3 separate regions of the Homo sapiens genome follow, and regions 1 and 3 are each linked to region 2. The links are contacts of gene promoters, found by promoter capture Hi-C in human tissues and cell types (Jung and others, 2019). All regions are on one chromosome and are shown on one strand. Each heading gives the region's core, a stretch centred on a gene start or on the middle of the fragment in contact. The rest is flanking DNA. Distances are from core to core; before and after follow the strand shown.

Evidence for each region. Contacts are between HindIII fragments. The study calls those that stand out against the background at their distance.
Region 1: a contact is called between a fragment that was not itself captured here and the fragment with the promoter of KCNV1 in region 2, in 1 of the 25 tissues and cell types used here (adrenal gland).
Region 3: a contact is called between a fragment that was not itself captured here and the fragment with the promoter of KCNV1 in region 2, in 1 of the 25 tissues and cell types used here (pancreas).

The regions. Positions count from the first base shown.
Region 1 is chr8:110,013,918-110,018,225 of GRCh38, reverse strand. No RefSeq gene overlaps it. Among named protein-coding and RNA genes, the nearest start is that of KCNV1, 40 kb to the right of the region's middle. The HindIII fragment of the contact is 7,276 bases long and covers 1-4,308 here.
Region 2 is chr8:109,973,194-109,977,211 of GRCh38, reverse strand. KCNV1 (potassium voltage-gated channel modifier subfamily V member 1) reads left to right here and starts at 1,441. Exons shown (of 4, transcript NM_014379.4): 1 at 1,441-1,593; 2 at 2,020-3,284. The coding sequence starts at 2,824. RefSeq lists an enhancer at 2,355-2,952. The HindIII fragment of the contact is 3,330 bases long and covers 1-3,071 here.
Region 3 is chr8:109,936,793-109,940,527 of GRCh38, reverse strand. No RefSeq gene overlaps it. Among named protein-coding and RNA genes, the nearest start is that of KCNV1, 37 kb to the left of the region's middle. The HindIII fragment of the contact is 4,605 bases long and covers 1-3,735 here.

The DNA.
Region 1 (4,308 bases), core at 652-3,151, 41 kb before region 2:
AAATCAAAGCCAAAGTACCATATCCAATGTACTCTACAGATATGTCCATAAGAAAATATATATTCCTATGAAAGCCAATTCATAAAATTTGAAGAAGTGATACCTGCTATACCAAATGTGCAGATATGAACATAAGGACAGAAGAAACATGAAAAAGAAACAAAGAAACATGACATCTCCAAAGGGACACAATTATTCTCCAGCAATAGGTTCCACGAAAAAAGAAATCTATGAAAAAATTGAAAAAGAGTTCAAAATGATGATATAAAAGAAGCTCAATGAGATGGAAATGAAAAAACATAAAAAATACAAAGAAATTAGAAAAACAATTCATGATCTAAAGGAGAAATTTAACAAAGAGTTAGATTCAGAAAAATGAAGCAAAAACCCTGGAACTGAAGAATTTAATAAATGAAATTTTAAAATACAATAAACAGTTTCAACAATAGACTAGATGAAGCAGAAGAAAAAATTTCTAAACCTGGAGACAAGTCTTTAAATTACCCAATTATGCTCAAAAGAAAGGAAATCAGTATATCAAAGAGATATCTGCACTCCTATGTTTGTCGCAGCACTGTTTCCAATAGCTAAAGTTTGGGGCAACCTAAGTGTCCATCAACAGATGAATGCATAAAGAAAATGTGGTGCATATATACACTGGATAACTATTTGGCCATAAAAAGAATGAGATCCAGTCATTTGCAACAATATGGATGGAACAGAGATCATTACATTAAGTGAAATAAGCCAGTCACAGAAAGACAAGCATCACATGTTCTCACTTATTCGTGGAATCTAAAGATCAAATCAATTGAACTCATGAATATAGAGAGTATAAGGATTGTTACCAGAAACTGGGAAGCGGGGGTGGGAGGAAGGTGGAGACAATGAATGAGTACAAAAAAAAAATAGTGAATAAGACTTCCTATTTGATAGCACAATAGGGTGACTGTAGTTAGTAATAAATTACTTGTATATTTTTAAGTAACTTAAAGAATGTAATTGAATTATTAAACTCAAATGATAAATGTTTGAGGGGATGGATAAAAAATAAAGTAAAATAAAACTACCCAGTTAGATAAAGAGGAAAATAATAAAGCAATAAAAAACAATAAATAAATCTTACGTGACATAGGGGACATCATAAAGTAACCAAATGTTTGAACTAGGTGTTCTAGAAGGAGAAGAGATGAATGGGCAAAACATATAAAATCGTTTAAACAAAATAATAGCAGAAAACTTCCCAAGTCATGTAACACATATAGACATTCAGATAGGGGAAACTTAAAAATTTCCAAATTGATTTAACACAAAAAGATCTTCTCCAAGGTATATTAGAATCAAATTTTCAAAAGTCAAACAAAGGGAGAATTATAAAAACAGCAATTATTATAAAAGAGATAATGTCAAGTCATACATAAGGGAATCCTCATCAAACTAACAGCAGATTTCTCAGCAGAAATTTTACAGGCCAGGTGAGAATGGGATAATGTATTCAAAGAACTGAGAAGAAAAAAAAAATGCTAGCCAAGAATACAATACACTGCAAAGCTTACCTTCAAAAATGAAGAAGACATAAAGTCTTTCTCAGACAACCAAAAACTGAAGGAATTCATCACCAATCAACCAACCCTAAAGAAATACTTAAGTGAATTTTGCATGTGGAGAAAAAGATAATATTTACAATTATGAAAACACACAAAAGCATAAAACCCACCGGTAAAACAGACACACAAGTGAGAAAGAGGAATGAATCAAATGTTACCACTATATAAATCCACCAAACCACAATGATAAACAATAAAAAGGGAAGAAAAAATTACAGGATATATAAAACAATCAGAAAACAAATAACAAAACGATGGGAGTAAATCCTCATTTATCAATAACCTTGAATGTAAGTGTACTAAATTTCCCACTTAAAAGACAGAGACTAGCTGCATGAATTTTAAAAAAAATGACAATTATATGAAGCCTATAAGAAACTCACTTACCTCTAAAGACACATATAATCTGAAAGTGAAAAGGTATAAAAAGATTTCATGAAAATAGCAACAAAAGGTGAGCAGGAGTAGCTATATTTATATCAGATAAAACAGACTGGCTGGGCACAGTGGCTCATGCCTCTAATCCCAACAATTTGGGAGGCCAAGGCGGGCAGATGACGAGGTCAGGAGTTTGAGACCAGACTGACCAACATGGTGAAATCCCATCTCTACTAAAAATACAAAAATTAGCCAGGGGTGGTGGCGCATGCCTGTAATCCCAGCTACTCAGAAGAATCGCTTGAACCCGGGAGGCAGAGGTTGCAGTGAGCTAAGATCGCACCACTGTACTCCAGCCTGGGCGACAGAGGGAGATTTTGTCTCAAAAAAAAAAAAAAAAATTATTCAATTCAAAAGCTGTAAAAAGAAACAAAAAAAGGATATTATATAATGTTAAAGGAATCAATTTAGCAAAAGGATATAACAATTCTAAATATAAATGTACCCAACAAGAGGGCACCCAGATATATATAGAAAATATTATTAGATCTAAAGAGATAAATTGCCACCAATACAATAATAGTTGAGGACCTCAACACCTCACTCTTAGCATAGGGCAGATCACCTAGACCAAAAAAAAAAAAAAAATCAACAAAGAGACACTGGATTTAAACTGCACTTTAGACCAAGTAGATCTAACAGATATTTACAGAACATTTCATCCAACAGTTGAAGAATACACATTCTTCTCACCAGCATATGGAACATTCAACAGGATAGACCATATGTTAGGCCACAAAACAAGTCTTAATAAATTTTTTAAAACTAAATTATATTAAGTATTTTCTAGGACTGCAATAGAATAAAACTAGAAGTTAATAACAAGATAAATTTTGAAAACCTGCAAATACATGGAAATTTAACAGCATGCTCCTAAATAACCATTTGATTAATGAAGAAATTAAGAAGGGAATAAAAGAATTTTTTGCAATGAACAAAAATGAAAATACAACATACTAAATCCTATGAGATACAGCAAAAGCAGTGCCTACAGGGAATTTTATAGGAATTAACACCTATAGCAAAAAAGTAGAATGATTTCAAATAAACAACCCTAACAATGCACCTCAAGGAACTAGAAAAGAAAAAAAATTAGTAGAAAAAAATAAGAATCAAAGCATAACTATACATAAAATGTAAAAAGCAAAGGAAAAACAAAACATAAACAAGTTTGCAAAATAACCAGCTAGCATCATAATGACAAGATCAAATCCACACATAATAATACTAACCTTAAATGTAAATAGACTAAATACCCCAATTAAAAGACACAGAATGGCAAGCTAGATAAAGAATCAAGACCCACCAGTATGCTGTCTTCAAAAGACCCATCTCACATACAAAGACCACATAGGCTCAAAATAAAGAGATGGAAGAAAAATTACCAAGCAAAAGGAAAATAGAAAAAAACAGGGGTTGCAATCCTCGTTTCTGAAAAGACAGATTTTAAACCAACAAAAATCAAAAAAGACAAAGAAGGGTATTACACAATGGTAAACGGTTCAATTCAACAAAAAGAGCTAACTATCCTAAATATATATGCACCCAATACAGGAGCACCCAGATTCATAAAGCAAGTTATTAGAAACATTCAAAGAGACTTAGACTCCCACACAATAATAAGTGGGAGGCTTTAACACCCCAGTGACATTATTAGACAGATCAATGAGACAGAAAATTAACAAAGATATGTAAAACCTGAATTCATCTCTGGATCAGGTAGACCTGATAGATATCTACAGAAGTCTCCACTCAAGAACAATAGAATATATATTCTTTTCATTGCCACGTGGCACTTACTCTAAAATTGATCACATAATTGGAAGTAAAACACTCCCCCAAATGCGAAAGAACTGAAATCATAACAGTCTTTCAGACCACAGTGCAATCAAATTAGAACTCAAGATTAAGACATTCATTCAAAACCATACAGCTACATGGAAATTGAACAACCTGCTCCTGAATAACTTTTGGATAAATAATAAAATTAAGATAGAAATCAAGAAGTTATTTGAAATTAATAAGAAAAAAAAAGAGACAATGTGCCAGCACCTCTGGGATACCACTAAAGCAGTGTTAAGAGAAATATACATATAGCACTAAATGTCCATATCCAAAAGCTAGAAAGATCTCAAGTTAACAACCTAGCATCATAACAAAAAACTAGAGAACCAAGAGCAAACAAACCCCAAGCTAGCAGATCATAAGAAATAACCAAGAACAGAGCAGGACTTAAGAGATAGAGAAATGAAAAACCCTTCAA
Region 2 (4,018 bases), core at 192-2,691:
TCAATACCTATATAATCTACAATTGAGATGCTGGAGGAGTTTTCTTGCTGTGCAGGGGAAAGCTCTGCTACATTAAAAAATAATAACGATACAGTACCTATACAGAATGAAGAACTGTTGACTGGGATAATTCTAGCATTTCTGTATTTACTGTATGGAAGAGTTCTTTAAGGAGAAAAGTTAACCAAATGGATGGCTGTCAAAAGAACCATGCTTATAAATATTATAGTTTAAAAAAGTTTATTGAAGTCCCCCATTTATTCTCAGAGGATTACTATAAGCTCCACAACAACAGAGATCTTGTCTATTCTTCATTGATACATCGCAAGTACCTTGAATAGTGCCAGTATATAGTGAATGCTCAGTAAACTTTTGTTGAAAGAGTGATGAAAATACCTCATTAAACTCCTGTCCTTCATTAGAAACTTGTAAACAAAGAAAATAAAAACAATCACACTGATTTATCAACAAAAAATAATGTTTCTAGAATTTTGTTTATGAAGGCAGCCTCTGACATGTAGTCCTGGGTTTGATTTGAACTGTGTGGCCCTTTGCAAATCACTTAATTTCCCTGTGCCTCACTTTTCCTTTCTGTAAAATGGATATATGCTACCTCATAGTGTTGTCATTATGATTAAATAAGGTACTGCATGAATAAAGAGCCTACAAATTTCCTGGCATAAAGTAAGCACCCATTAAATGTTGGGTGTTTTCATTAAAGCTTGAAATTTCACTGAGGAAGGCACTGAGACCCTCAAAGTAAATGATAGCTAGACGTCCCACAGCCAGTTGGCAAAGCTAGAACTAAACAGTCACGTTTCTGTCCAATCTATGAAAAAGCTTATTCTACTACATCAGGCTGCCTGCTTATGTCTTTATATATACTACCTAATACGTGTGTGTGTGTATGCTTTCTAATATATACTTATATATGTAAGTGTATCCATAATATATGCTTTCCAATATGTATTCTATATATACATACTAGAAAACAACGAAGATGAGTGTGGTTCACTCTCTCTGGCAAAGACTTGAAAAATGCATGATTCTGAGATGCCTGCTGAAAATGTGAAAACCTTGAACCATGCCAAATGAAGCAGTTAATATAACTGCCCTAACCTCAAGTTTAGCACACTGATCCAGTTGGAAATTTTGCTCTGGAGCATTTACAAAAGCACAGATCCGGGGAAACGGGAATCAAATGCAGTAATTCTGCAAGTGTATTCAGGATGAATGTAATATTGAGTGTCACCGGGCACCTCACTACCCCCCGCCTCCACCCCCGCCGTCTCACCTCCCTCCCTTAGATCCTGCCACTCCCCTCTGCTGGTGCTGGAAGCACTGGGCGAGTGGCTCTCAGAGCTAGAGCGGGCGGGGCGGACACGCTTAGCGTAAGCGCAGGGGCCAGGAGCCCGGAGGGAGGTGGAGGCGGGGCAAGGCAAGGCAGCAGGCGCTGGGTAGAGCTCAGCTGGAACACAGTTTCCCTCCTGGACCGGTCGAGTCAGACCTCACGTGTAGACTAAGAGGATCAAAAGAAGAGTACGTTACCTGCGGCGCCGGTTGTGCGCAGACCAGATGTGCCGGGAGCTGCAGGTGAGTCACTTGCTCTTCCCTCCCACCCCCACCTCCTCACCCCGAGTCCAACAGGTTGGCTGGAGCGCAGCTTCCAGGGGCCCCGTGGGTACACTTCTAGTCTCACCTGGGCGCTGGCCTCGGCTTCTCCCTTTACCGAGGGAGGCCGTCGTTACTATTTAAATTCCTGCCCCAGCCCACGCTTGTTCTATTCCTTGTCTTTTTGCCTTTCCTTCTAAAATGAGAGCTCCGCTGTGCTCAGAACACCTGCTCTCCGGGAAACTTGTAGGGACAGAAATGGTTAAAAGGAAGGGTGCCTCAAAAAAGTGCCTCAACACGAGGTGGACCCTCGACAGGGTGGGAGCTGACAGTGACACTCCTAGTTCTTAGTGACCCACTGGGTCTTCAATAAAAAGTCATCATTAATTATTCTTGTTTCTCAACCAGGAGGTCAGAACCTAAGGGAGACGGCGGAAGAAAATGGAGCGTCAGTGATCATCAGACTAGAATGAGAGTGAATTGGGAGAAAATGGTGCGGCCCCCTCACCCAGAGAACCCTCCCCCACCTGCTCACACCCCCAGCGAACACCCCGGGGGAGGCCTATGAAGCAGCAGTAAAAGAAAAGGGAGGAATATAAATTCTCAAGTTGGAAGGGACCCGGTTACCACTTCCTTTGCTTTCTGAACTTTTTGTTTTGGTCTCCTGCGGGCAGGAGTGAGTCTCGCCATCCCCCTTGCTTGCTTGCTTGCTTGCGTTCAGCTAAGAGTCATCTTCTCTCCTCTTCCTCCTCCTCCGCCCCACATCTCCCTCCTTCCTCCCTTCCCCAACCCCTCCACCCACCAAGTAGCGAGTCATTCAATCTGTACACCTCCTGGGCTGGGAATCGCAATTGCGAAGTTGGGAGGCGGGGTGACAACGTTTGGGAAGGGCCAGGGCGACCGGCAGTGTGCACAGGGACTGTGTCGGGCTTGGACCTCACCTGATCCTCTCTCTTAGCGCGACCCTTCCTCTGCTCCCTGTCTCCTCTTTCTGCCACTTGTGCGCTGCTTCCGCGCACTCCCGGCTCCCTAGCGGCAGGAGGAGGAAGGCGCACAGCGGGTGGAGAGGGTGCGCCAAGGAGAGGTAACCCCTTCGGGAGCCCGGGGAATCCCGGCCGCCACCAGGGGCCGTGCCACCGCCCTCGCGGGACCAAAGCTTCCGGCGTGTCCCCAACTTTGTGGCGCCCTCAGGCCGCGGCGACTGGGTTAGAGATGCCTTCCAGCGGCAGAGCGCTGCTGGACTCGCCGCTGGACAGCGGCTCCCTGACCTCCCTGGACTCTAGTGTCTTCTGCAGCGAGGGTGAAGGGGAGCCCTTGGCGCTCGGGGACTGCTTCACGGTCAACGTGGGCGGCAGCCGCTTCGTGCTCTCGCAGCAGGCGCTGTCCTGCTTCCCGCACACGCGCCTTGGCAAGCTGGCCGTGGTGGTGGCTTCCTACCGCCGCCCCGGGGCCCTGGCCGCCGTGCCCAGCCCTCTGGAGCTTTGCGACGATGCCAACCCCGTGGACAACGAGTACTTCTTCGACCGCAGCTCGCAGGCGTTCCGATATGTCCTGCACTACTACCGCACCGGCCGCCTGCATGTCATGGAGCAGCTGTGCGCGCTCTCCTTCCTGCAGGAGATCCAGTACTGGGGCATCGATGAGCTCAGCATCGATTCCTGCTGCAGGGACAGGTACCCCGGAGGCACGCGGCGGCTGGGCGGGGAGGCGGGCGCGGCAGAGAAAGAGAGGAAGGCACAGGTAGATTTGAGGCTTTACACAAGCTTCGCTGGAGCCAGGCCTAGCAATAAGGTGTGGCCACTTCTGGGCTGACAGGTGGGGTGGGGGTGGGGGACTGGAAAGCATCAACGCCAACTTTTGAATAGAACTTTTTGAATCTCTTTGTTCCCTTTTTTGAGTATGCTAATTTAACGTATAAGGCAAGGGACTTCAGGCCCACAATAAATATTTGGTGACTGAATAAATGAATCAGAAACGCCATGCTCCAAAAATGCATGCATAGGGATAAAAGATTTGGCACGCAGCATTATCATTTATCAAACCTAGAACACTGACTTTGAAAAACTTGAATGGAGAATTGTTTTAAATATAGAAGATAAAAGGTTGGTCCCTTGATTGAATGATTGTGGAACTCTGAGGTTACCTTGCTATTACTACCATTTCTTCATGAATACATTTCCTTTACACACACACAAAAAAGTTCCACCTGCCAAACATCTGTTCTTACCAGAAAATGGGTAATAAAATGTATTAATCCAAAGTAGCTTTACTATGTATACACTTCTACTAAGAAAGTGTCATTTTAAAAATTATAATCCAGGCCGGTCGTGGTGGCTCACGCCTGTAATCCCAGCACTTTGGGAGGCCGAGGCGGGTGGATCACTTGAGGCCAAGAGTTCGAGACCCC
Region 3 (3,735 bases), core at 986-3,485, 37 kb after region 2:
CCTATTCTGCACGCAATGCTTCTGCCAAGACCATGGACTCATGGAATGTATTATCTGCCATTAGAGTATTCCACACAGCACTGCCTCTGACCAAGACATTCACTTTTCAGCTAAAGAAGTGCGGCAGTGGGCTCACGCTCATGAAATTCACTGGTCATACCATGTTCTCCATCATCCTGAAGCAGCTGGATTGATAGAACGGTGGAATGGCCTTTTGAAGTAACAATTACAATGCCAACTAGGTGACAACAGCCTGCAGGGCAAACTAGGTGACAACAGTCTGCAGGGCAAACTAGGTGACAACAGCCTGCAGGGCAAACTAGGTGACAACAGCCTGCAGGGCAAACTAGGTGACAACAGTCTGCAGGGCAAACTAGGTGACAACAGTCTGCAGGGCAAACTAGGTGACAACAGTCTACAGGGCAAACTAGGTGACAACAATTTGCAGGGCAAACTAGGTGACAACAGTTTGCAGGGCAAACTAGGTGACAATAGTTTGCAGTTCTCCAGAAGGCCGTGTGTGTTCTGAATAACCAGCATCCAACATATGGTACTGTTTTTCCCATAGCCAGGATTAATAGGTCTAGGAATCAAGGGGTGGAAGTGAAAGTGGCACCACTCACCATCACCCCTACTGACCCACTAGCAAAATTTTTGCTTCCTGTTCCTGCAACATTATTTTCTACTGACCTAGAAGTCTTAGTTCCAGAGGAAGGAATGCTGCCACCAGGGGACACAACAATGATTCCATTAAACTGGAAGTTAGCATTGCCACCTGGACACTTTGGGCTCCTCCTACCTTTAAGTCAACAGGCTAAGAAGGGAGTTACAGTGTTGGCTGGGGTGATTGACCCAGACTGTTAAGATGAAATCAGTCTACTACTCCGTAACAAAGGTAAGAAAGAGTATGCATTCAATACAGGAGATCTATTAGGGCATCTCTTAGTATTACCCTGCCCTGATTAAGGTGAGTGGAAAACTACAACAGCCCAATCCAGGCCGGACTACAAATGGTCCAGACCCCTCAGGAATGAAGGCTTGAGTCACTCCACCAGGAAAAAAACCACAACCTGCTGAGGTGCTTGCTGAAGGCAAAGGGAATACAGAATGGGTAGTAGAAGAAGGTAGTCATCAATACCAGCTACGACCACGTGACCAGCTGCAGAAATGAGGATTGTAACTGTCATGAGTATTTCCTCTTTCTGTTGTTAAAAGCATGTTTGTGCATGGATACACTTGTACTAAGAAAATCTCTTCATTTTATTTCCTTTTCCTTTATCATGTGACATAAAATTTATTGACTTCATATCAGCATTTAAGTATTATTAACTTTATGTAATAGTATTTGGGTTGGGGATTGGTGTGTTTCCAGTTGTATGAAGGATACTTGTATTATGTTAGGTGTAATTATGACCTTATTATTGTCTTTATTTGAAAATTATGTATTATCTTAGGAGATGAGTATGGGTTCAAGTTGAAAACGGGTAGACTTGTGATGGTTAATACTGTGTGTCAGCTTGATTGGATTGAAGCATGCAAAATATTGATCCTGGGGTGTGTCTGTGAGGGTGTTGCCAAAGGAGGTTAACATTTGAGTCAGTGGGCTGGAAAAAGCAGACCCACCCTGAACCTGGTGGGCGCAATCTAATCAGCTGCCAGTGAATATAAAGCAGGCAGAAAAACGTGAAAAAGAGAGAGACTGGCCTAGCCTCCCAGCCTATATCTTTCTCCCTGCTGGATTCTTCCTGCCCTCTAACATTGGACTCCAAGTTCTTCAGTTTTGAGACTTGGACTGGCTCTCCTTGCTCCTCAAGCTTGCAAACAGCCTATTGTGGGACCTTGTCCTCCCTATAATTAAAAATTGTATTAAGGCTTAATTATTTTTTCAAATTTATGTCTAAGTCTGTTTCACAAGGAGCTACCTATTGACCTTTGCTGATTATACTAGTTATTGACTGTTATTTGAGACAGCAAATCTTCAACTGAACTTCAATATCATACACTGAAAAGCAACAGTTTTTGGACTCAAGACAAATTTGGAGTGTAATCACAATCTTGCCATGTTGGCATTTTTCCTTCTTTTCAAATGGGCATAAAAAGAGAATAATTTATGTTTGTCATAAAGAGTAGAGATGAAGTATATAAAAAGTAGGGTACTTATTATATGCTCAATACACAATACATTTTATTATATTCATGGAAAAATATGTAGGCAGTATTTAAAAATTGCATGAAACATTTTATTGTCATTTTTCTGTTACATTATATTCACATATAATTTATAAGTTTTAGACCAAAATTTTATTTTTGCAATTTTCATTTTAAACCTAAACACTATATTATATATAGTGTTTTATATATAATAAGATATATATCTATATCTATCTATATATATTCTATTAGTCTTGTTCCTCTAGAGAACCCTGACTAATACCTTTGATATGATTTTTTGAAAATGAAATTTTACCTCTGTGATCTTCCTTCCAAAACCCATAACCCCAGTCTAATCATGAGAAAAACAATGGGCAAATTTTAAGAGAGTAGAATCCTACAATAGTCTGCCATATTCCCAGAAAGAAGAATCCTACTGTATGGCTGACCAGTATTCCTCACAATTTTCAAGGCATCAAAAACAAAGAAAGTATGAGAAACTCTCACATCCAGGCAGATCATAAAGAGACACGATAACTAAATGTAATTAGTGGTATCTTGGATAGAAAACTGGGGCAGAAAAGGGTATTAGGTAAATACTAAGGACCTCTGAATAAATTATAAACTGTATTTAATATTATATTAGTTATTAATTGTGTCAAGTAATTGTAACAATGCAATGCTAACATGAAAGATGTTAACAATGGAAAGAACTTTGTAGAGTAGTATATGGGAACTCTCTACTATCTTCTTAATGTTTTTGTACTCAAAAACTACTTCAAATAAAATTTATTCAAAAGTTGAAGAAACTTAAAACAATTTTTTTCTGATTTTAACAATGTGTTGTATCAAAATATATGTTATTTTGTTCCAGAGAGAAGGGACTAAGTCACAAAAAAAGGAGTCTTTAATGATTCACTGAAAGTCTCAGATCACTTCTCTAAGTAATTTATTTGACACTTAAGGTGACTAAGATATTATTATAATGTTTAATAATTCAGCCTTTAAAATGTGAAGACAGGAGGATTAACAATTCCAGTGAAATATGAGGTTGTTTAAAATTCCCTTCAAAATTACATTTTAGTTATTTTCTTAAATGCTCATTTAAATGTTTAATCAAATTCTATATCCACACTGTCCACACTGCACGTAATAATTTGATTCCAGATAGGTTATTTTCTCTCTCAGGCTTATTTTACTTCAGCATAATTATAAGGGCACTAGCTATTTATTTGTTTCCATTAGAAGACACTTACCTCTAGGCTGGGCACAGTGGCTCACATGTGTAATCACAGCACTTTGGGAGGCTAAGGCAGGTGGTTTGCTTGAGCCCAGGAATTCAAGACTAGCCTGGGCAACATAGTGAGGCCTATTCTCTATAAAAAAAAAAAAAAAAGTAAATAATTAGCCTAGCATGGTGGCACATGCCTGTAGTCTCAGTTACTCGGGAGGCTGAGGTGGGAGGATCACTTGAGCCTGGGAAGTCATGGCTGCATCTTGACACCGCACTCCACCCTGGACAACAGAGCAAGACCTAGTCTAAAAAAAAGAGAGAGAGAGACTTACCTCCTGCAAAGATGCTAA